Linked DNA regions of Homo sapiens: all the other regions are linked to region 1. Evidence: promoter capture Hi-C in 16 types of primary human blood cells and fetal thymus (Javierre and others, 2016). All regions are on one chromosome and are shown on one strand. Each heading gives the region's core, a stretch centred on a gene start or on the middle of the fragment in contact. The rest is flanking DNA. Distances are from core to core; before and after follow the strand shown. Region 1 holds the start of IDH3A (isocitrate dehydrogenase (NAD(+)) 3 catalytic subunit alpha). Region 2 overlaps IREB2 (iron responsive element binding protein 2). Region 3 holds the start of HYKK (hydroxylysine kinase).

Region 1 (2,857 bases), core at 262-2,761:
GGAGCAAATGTGACATAAGAGTTATCATCACAAGCAAATCTGGGTCTGAAGAGGGTGACAAAGTAGAATCTAGTTATTGAACAAAAAAACCAGTTAATGATGCCCATGAAAACCACTGTCTGTTGGAGACAGATAAACATATTGATAAGAAAGCTTCAGATTTTTGTTTTCCTTCTGTACATACCAAGTGCTTTCACATACATTATTTTATTTAATACTCAAACAATTCTGTGATGTAAGTATAGATATTCACAGATGGGCATATTAAGGCTTAGAGATGTTTAGTAATTTGCTTAGGGTCACACAGCCAATCAGTGGCATTGCTAGGATTTAAATCTGAGACTCCTAAATTCCAGTACAGAGATCTTTTCCTTAAATAACAGTGCATCTCTGGACCTCTCTTTAAACCGAAAAAATGGGAGAAAAGTAGTATCAAACTTACAGAAAAACGTTAAATTGTTTATAGATTTCTAGGGGACCACCCTTTCATAGCAACAGGAGACTTGAGGCCTGATGGCCTGTACCATCATTTGCTATGTGACCTTGGGAAATGGGAACCAAGACACCTAGGTTCCTCTCCCTGCTCTGACACCGACCTCCTGTGTGACCTTGAGCAAATTCTTCTTCAGGCACAGGTTAGTTCCACTGAGAAGCTACGGAACTGCATAGATGATCTGAAACCCTTTCCAGCTCTGGCATCTGAGCTGTCAAGGAGAGCTAAAGCGCTCCAGATTGCAGGATTCCCACCAATGAAAGGTAAAAGGAAGGCTCTGCTGGTCTCTCTCTCCGAAGGTTCAGACGGTAATTCCGAGGTGTAAGATGCCCTATCCTATGAAGGGGAAATAGCTACAAGAGCACTAGAGGTCTGACTGGGAAGAGCGCCAAAGGGAAAACAATCTGATAGGGAAAAGGGCCCCCGGATTCTCTCACCTGGGAAAACCTCCCAAGCTCAACGCCAGTGCCCGTGGCACCTGCGGTTCCCCGGCCAAGGGCCGCGCAGACAGCGGATGAGAGGTGTGGGCAGTGCTGAGGGGATCAGTCCCGCAGCAGGGCCGCAGCCGGGGAAGCGGCCCGGATGGCGGAGCCGGGACAGAGGCTCCCGTGACCTTCCCGGGCTCGGCGCGAAGCCTGGGCTCTGGCCTGGGCGGATGCGGGTGACGGCAGCCGGGTCTCGGCAGGAGCAGGGCCGGCGCCCCCCCGCCTTGACCTTGACGCCGTCCCCGCCTCTGCGCTGCTGACCCGGCCCGGGGCGGCCCATACACTGCGAGCCGGCCACGGAGCGCGGGGCACGGGCGACCAGGACCGGCTCCCAAGCTGTCCCCGCGGGCAGCCACCGCCTCCCTGTCTGGCCCACGCGCCCGCCCACACCCGGCACGCGACCGGCTCTCCTGCCAGCCCTCGCGGCCTGCCTGCCTGCCACACGCCGGCCTGCCAGCGCTCACCTTAGAGATCCACGCGGGCCCAGCCATCGCTTCCCCTCCTGGCTCCGCAGCAACAGCCGCAGCGGCAGTGCGCAAGCGCCCACCCCACGCTCGGAGCCCGCCCCTGCACGGCCACGCCCCCTGAACGCCCCGCCCCCTAGACCGCCTCAGGATTGCTTCGCGCTCGCTCGCTGCCCCGCCCCTGGACATTCCGCTGGCGAATCGCCGGGCTCGTCTCTCTGTGACTGGCCTGGCTGAGCGCCAGGCGAACCCGGAAACTGAGGGGCCGGCATCTCCGGGAAAGCTTCTTCCTCCCCTCCCTGGTTCATTGACTCGCTGTTAAGGTAAGACGTTTGTTCCACACCTACTAGGTGCTGATTAATGTTCTAGGATCTTGGGGATATAGCGCTCCTCATAGAATTTACAATCCCGTGGAGAAAGACACATAATTTTCTTATTCCACAAATTTTGATTTTTTTTTTTTTTTTGAGACCGGGTCTCACTCTGTCGCCCAGGCTGGAGTGCAGTAGCGCGAACAGGTTCACTACAAAGCCTCGACCTCCTGGGATCAAGTAATTACTAAGCCCAGCCCAACTTTGTTTTTTCTTTTCTTTTTCTTTTTTTTTTTTTTTTTTTTTCTCCGTAGAGATGGGGCCTCGCTATGTTGCTCAGGCTGGTCTGGAACTCCAGAGTTCAAGCGATCTGCTTGCCCCAGGCTCACAAAGTGAGCCACTGCGACTGGCCGAATTTTATTTTTTACCAGCTTTATTGAGGTATAATGTATATATAGTAACATTTACTCACTGTAAGTGTACAGTTTGATGATTTTTAGTAAATGTAAACAGTTGCACAACCATCACCACAATCCAGTTTTTGAGCATATGAAAATGTTCCTTGTGTCCGTTTATAGTCAATCCCGCTCCTGTCCTCAATCCCAGGCAACTACTAATCTGTCTATTTAGCTCAACAAATATTTCTGAGGGTCAACTAGACACCAGGCACTGTTTTAAGTGCTGGGGCTTAGTGTCCAGTAGGAAAGACAGGCTTCAATCAAGTGTCACACACATGTCATTAAAACTGTTGCGCCAAGAAGCAAAAGAGCAAGGAGCTATGGCAAGGCAAAATCAGGCAACCTGATTCAAACCTAACCTGGAGGTCAGGGAATGCTTCTCTGAAGAAATAACATCCATACTCACCTTTCCCCTTGTCCTCTCCCTGTCCATCACAAACTCCTGAGTTCCTGCTGATGGCCAGGCCTCTAGCTGGGTGCCAGGGGAGGTCAGGTGTTTAAACCAGGTCTCTGCTACCCTACCCTGGGAAGAGTTCTATCCAGAGAGGAGCTGCCTACCCACCCAGAGAGGTGATGAGTGCAGTAGAGAAGTGATCCCAAGAGCTTTTATGACCTAAATAATAAACTGCAGCTAAGTCTGTGGCCT
Region 2 (2,700 bases), core at 186-2,685, 340 kb before region 1:
CTTGGTATCGTTTCTTACACTGTAACTGTTATTTGGTTGTACTTGTTTGTCTTGTCTTCCCAACTAAGTATCTTGAAGCTAAGACCACATCTCCTACTTCTGTGTATCCAACCTGGTGCTTTGCTCATTTGATATGCCCAATAAGTGTTTCCTGAGTGATAAGGCATCAAAAATTGTATGGTAATGGCAAGGTAGCAAGTAAAACTAAAGCATATTTTTTCTATCTTCTCTTTGTATATGAAAGGCACAAACAAGCAGCTTCAGTACCTACTGAACACCAATATCAATATGAAGTGCGATAGCTGTTACTTACCCAAGCTTACTTAGATATGGTAATACTCCACTTGAACTGAGGTAATGTGTAACCATCCCACTGCCTGGAGATAAACTTGTTCTTATATAAGGTTTAACACGCAGACCAGCTTCAACAGCCTTTTTAGCCAAAAGACCTGCACAGCCAACAAACAATGATTTATTATGGCAATGTTTCTTTCCCTCTCTCACCCATATTAAAGTAAAAAGTGAGAAGTAATTTATTTAACAGATTAAAGTATGAATTCATAAACTTACTGTCATTATTTTGTCCACTTTATTCTACTGATTTGCTTCATTTACAACAAATTTAAAATTACAGCCTTTATGTTGAAAATTATTAAGATACAGGCTGACATCATTCACACAGAGTAAACAAAAGGTGCACATATATAAGTACATGTTAACAAAACCATTTTTTCTCTTTCTTCTTTTTTCTAAAGCAAACCATTTTAAAGTCATAATTACAATAAGAGCAATGTAACACATTATACATGGTTTTATACAACTAAGGAATTGTTCCAATGGGCATACAAATTAATTTCATTTACAATCCTTGCCAAGACAATGATCTTTTACTACTTTTATAACTTTTAATGAAATCTACCACACTGTTATGGTTAACTTCTAGATAATCAAGAAATACCTGCTAATTAACTATAGTTCTAAATTAACAAGAGAAGCAGATACAACCTAAAATTAATTGACAGGTAAGTTATAGTAAACAGTAAATTTACCTTCGGTGTAATAAAAACAACATAAATCAAACTCAGGCTCCTTAAGACCTAACTAAAATACTAGAAAGTCTCTCAATATCAAATGTAGACACTCATGCATCATCTAAGAAACAAAGTTACAATAACAGAAAAGCCAACAATAATTAAGGAAAAAGAAAAAGTATGGCCATAAACCACAACCCACCTGCAGCAAGCATGACAGATGGATTGCAATTATTGGTACAACTGATAACTGCAGCAATGACCACTGATCCATGAGACAGCTTATATTCACTTCCTTCATAATGAATGGAGACAATATCCTTTTGTTTTTCAGCTGCAATTTGGAAGCCTTTAAATCCAACCTATACAAATTTCCACAAAAATATAAACTAAATATTCTGGGTATGTACAGAATAAAAGACTGGCAGAAAACATAGCAGATACCGGACATTTGATGATTTAACATTAAAAATCCTTTTTGTGAGTGATGCTAAAGGCCCATAACATTCAGTAGTTGTAATTCAGCTGAAGCATAAATCTGCATGGGCACGACAGGAGTCTGGTGATGTTCACAAGCAAAACTTTTATCTACTAAGCGAGTCCAGCCTACCACCCAGAATCCAGATCTCATTTGGCTTTGTTGTTCTTAATCATCCCTGTTTATAGTAATTCTCAAGAGATGGCAGAAATTTTTTTCTGTTAAAATGACCCCGAAGATTTCCTCCAAAGGGATCCTATGTGTGTGAGTGTAGCATAGCTGAAACAAGATTGGCTATGAGTTGCTAATTATTGAAGCTAATTGACAGGTACATGGCAATTCAGTGGACTATTTTGTTTTTGTACAAGTTTAACACTTTCTGAACAAAAAGTCAAGAAATCATAAAAAGAAAGGCTCTGAAAGGAAAGCCAAGTACTAGAGATCTCAGAATAGAGAAAGTGACAAGACTAAAACTGTGATTCTCAGACAGAAAATACAAACCCTCAAAAGCCAGAGACCACTTGCTACTCGGTCACATTTACCAAATTTTATGACTGTAGGCCAGGTGCGGTGGCTCATGGCTATAATCCCAGCACTGTTGGGAGGCTGAGGTGGGCAGATCACTTGAGGTCAGGAGTTGAAGACCAGTCTGGCCAACATGGTGAAACCCTGTCTCTACTAAAAATACAAAAATTACCCAGGAATGATGGTAGACTCCTGTAATTCCAACTACTTTGGGGGCTGAGGCAGGAGAATCGCTTGAGCCCGGGAGGGGGGAGGTTGCAGTGAGCCGAGATTGTGCCACTGCACTCCAGCTTGGGCAACAAAGTGAGACTCTGTCTCAAAAAAAAAAAAAAAAGTTTCTGTGATGATGTAACTATTCAATTATCTATGCTGTTCATCAATACAAGACCCATATGTATTCAGCATTTAAAAATGAGACTACTGTGACTAAGAAACTCAATTTTAAATTGTATATAATTTTAATTTAAATAGACACAATCAATCTCTGATCCTCACAATGGAACTGGGAACAAGCTTACCTAATGACTGACTTGCACATTAGACAGAAGGAAAATAAGGGGGCTGCTGGTGTGTGCCATAATATATAAAACATAGCAGTGAATTGAGTTTATGGGTCACCTTGTTGGTTCTTTACTACTTAGCACAAAGCGGGTTGAAAAACACGGA
Region 3 (2,735 bases), core at 208-2,707, 360 kb before region 1:
CTCTGTCACCCAGTCTGGAGTACAGTGGCACAATCACTGCTTACTGCAGCTTCCAACTCCTGGGCTCAAGGGATCCTCCCACCTGAGCTTCCCAAATAGCTGGGACTGCAGGCAGGTGCCACCATGCCTGGCCTTTTTTTTTTTTTTTTTTTTGGAGAGAGAGGGTCCCACTATGTTGCCCAGGCTGGTCTCGAACTTCTGGGCTCAAGCAATCCTCCTACCTTGGTCTCCCAAAGTGCTGGGATTACAGGTGCAAGCCATCATGGCTGTCTTTTTGATTTTATTATTTTTATTTTTTTAGAGACAGTGTCTCGCTATGTTGCCCACTCACACATTTTTAAAAATTATTAACTTTTTTTCCTACTTCATTGAAAGGGAGAGGAGGAATTCAGGTACTATAGGCTGTTGGTCTATATATCCGGCCAACAGTATTTAGCTCCTGAAAAAGCCCGCAGGAAGCAAGTGTGATTTCCAACTCCAAGATCTGCGTCAGAATCTCACCACCTTTGTCCTGCAGCCGGGAGGGGGCTGGAACTTAAGCTCTGTACTTTGTGCAAAGTATACCAGACAAGAAACAGGAGTCATTCTTGATTCTTTCCTGTCCCTCACTCCCAACGTGTAACAAAGTCTAGTAAATTCTACCTTAGCATGTCTTCCAACTCTACCTTTCTTCTCCTACATTCCCTTTTGCTGCGTCCTTCCAAGGGATTATACCCAGTCAATCTCTGTATTCTCAGCCCCTAGGCTAGTCCCTTATTTAATATTAAATGGTGAACCAAGGGTGACCTTCATTCCACAGACTCACGGGGCAGTTCAACCCCAAGGGGATCATGAAACAGAAAGGTGGGGAATCTAGCATCTGCAGTTTTTCAAAGACAACAGTGCATTACTAGGTGCTTTTAAGGGTCTTCCTGGTGGGTGAAGGGGAAAAAGTGGTGGGTGAGCGGGCTGCAGAGGGGCTGCTGAACCAAGAGGCAGGAAAAGAGAGGAGGAGGGCGCATGAGTAAGTGAGGTTCAGCGGAGCTCAGAGACTGCTCCCAGTAGACACCGGCCAGGCGCCGGCACAGCCCTCGGCCAGCGACCCCACACAGACCCGGGAGGGCTGGCCTCGACAGCTTCTCGGGTGCCACGCTTTCATTCTGGGGGCCCAGCTCAGCCCTCCTAGGTTACAGGTGAGGTCCGGGAAGAAGGGTGACTTGCCCATCACGCACGCAGCGAGCTGAGGATAGCGCGGGCTGGAGGAGCCTGAGGCATAGGACTCCCGGCTCCACACTTGCAGCGAGCCTCCCTGCCCTCGGGGGCGACCCCGACTCCCGCAGCGGGGACGCAGGGCTCGTCTCTGCTTCCCCCTCCTTGGCTCACCGGCAGCGACCCGACGTCCTGGGGTGGATCCCGCTTTCCCGCAGACAGGTAGTGCGGCCTCGGCCGCGCACCGGCGCTAGGAGGTAGAGCAGGGGCCGCAGCGCCCGCGCCCCTCCTCCAAGCCCCGCGAGTCCTGACTTCTGATTGGCTCCTCCCGGTCCCTCGCCGCCCAGTCAGCGCAGACTACTGGATTTTTTTCCCGGCCCCGCCTAGGAGGCTGCGAACAGAAATTCAGAGATTCGGCTTCTGTTGACTTTCTGCAACTCCGCCCAGCCTTCTCACAGTGAGTATCCCAGTCAGAATCCGGCTACCTTTTCATGAACCGGACTCCTTATTCCTGATTGGCTCTCCGGGTTGCCGCCCCACCCCGAGTGGGCAGGCTTTCGGCTCTTGAGTGGCACCTCCGAGTTTCGCAGGGTCCACGTTGTCGTGGCGGTAACACTGACAGCTCCTCACCCGCATCCACGTTTTTGTTTCCTAGCCTTCATTCCTTCTGTTGGAGGCACGTATCCTGGAAGTGATACGCTTAGAAAGCGTGGCCCCAGAGAGACTCGCAATCCCAGCCCCAGGAACTGTAAGGGTCCTGATTGGAAGGCCTGAGTAAGGCCTGGCTGCGTTCCGCAGGAGGATGCTGGAATGTTAGAACCCGAACAGTTTAGGCAGGGCGCAGATGGCTCACGCCTGTAATCCCAGAAATTTGGGAGACCGAGGCGGGAGGATCACCTGAGGTCAGGAGTTCGAGACCAGCCTGGCCAACATGGTGAAACCCCTCTCTACTAAAAATACAAAAATTAGACTCAGGGGGTATGTCTGCAGCTGCAGAAAGATGTATGGGAACAGACACACAACTCTCCCTCCGAGATAAGCACAACAAAGAGACACAGAAGCAGTCCAAGCCTCTGATAAACTCTCCCACTCCGAATCCTTAAAAACTTACTTAGTCTGTAAGAGAGTGTGCCTCTGACCTAACTTGGCCAGACGCCCCTCTCAGGTTTTCTCTAAAATAAACCTCTTATGACCACCAAGCCACTTTTCGTGTTTCTTTCCTCTTTCTTTAATTCTTACACCGAGTAGTTGGGATTACAGGGGCCCACCACCACGCCTTTATCTAGGTAGTGGAATCAGTGGGCTCTCTTTCTGCAGGAAAGTCCGCAGAGACCCCATGATTTTCAGAAAGCTGCACGAGATTCATGGAGTAACAGCCAGGTTAGTTGGATGGTCTTAACTGTTAAGGGCATGAGGCGCTGATAAACAGCTTGATGCCCTTCTCCAGCCAAGCAGGACTTCTCCGATAAGTCAGAGCCCTCTATCTACTGTAGGCTACTGGAAGAGAGTCCTGGGTACTGGTCCACTCATGCCTGCAAATTGGTTTC

Evidence for each region. The method cuts DNA at HindIII sites, captures the fragments that hold promoters and counts their contacts. A CHiCAGO score of 5 or more calls a contact.
Region 2: a fragment that was not itself captured here is called in contact with the fragment with the promoter of IDH3A in region 1 in 1 of 17 cell types (erythroblasts); the score reaches 5.3 in erythroblasts.
Region 3: the fragment with the promoter of HYKK here is called in contact with the fragment with the promoter of IDH3A in region 1 in 1 of 17 cell types (naive CD4 T cells); the score reaches 5.2 in naive CD4 T cells.

What each region holds. Positions count from the first base shown.
Region 1 is chr15:78,148,016-78,150,872 of GRCh38, reverse strand. IDH3A (isocitrate dehydrogenase (NAD(+)) 3 catalytic subunit alpha) reads right to left here and starts at 1,511. Exons shown (of 11, transcript NM_005530.3): 1 at 1,443-1,511. The coding sequence starts at 1,469. It overlaps LOC124903534 (a long non-coding RNA gene), which reads left to right and starts at 1,654. Exons shown (of 2, transcript XR_007064725.1): 1 at 1,654-1,765. RefSeq lists a silencer at 972-1,551. The HindIII fragment of the contact is 1,572 bases long and covers 156-1,727 here.
Region 2 is chr15:78,483,454-78,486,153 of GRCh38, reverse strand. It overlaps IREB2 (iron responsive element binding protein 2), which reads right to left. Exons shown (of 22, transcript NM_004136.4): 12 at 1,234-1,393; 13 at 314-449. Among named protein-coding and RNA genes, the nearest start is that of HYKK, 23 kb to the left of the region's middle. The HindIII fragment of the contact is 2,229 bases long and covers 321-2,549 here.
Region 3 is chr15:78,506,299-78,509,033 of GRCh38, reverse strand. HYKK (hydroxylysine kinase) reads right to left here and starts at 1,457. Exons shown (of 5, transcript NM_001013619.4): 1 at 1,363-1,457. The HindIII fragment of the contact is 14,973 bases long and covers 1-2,735 here.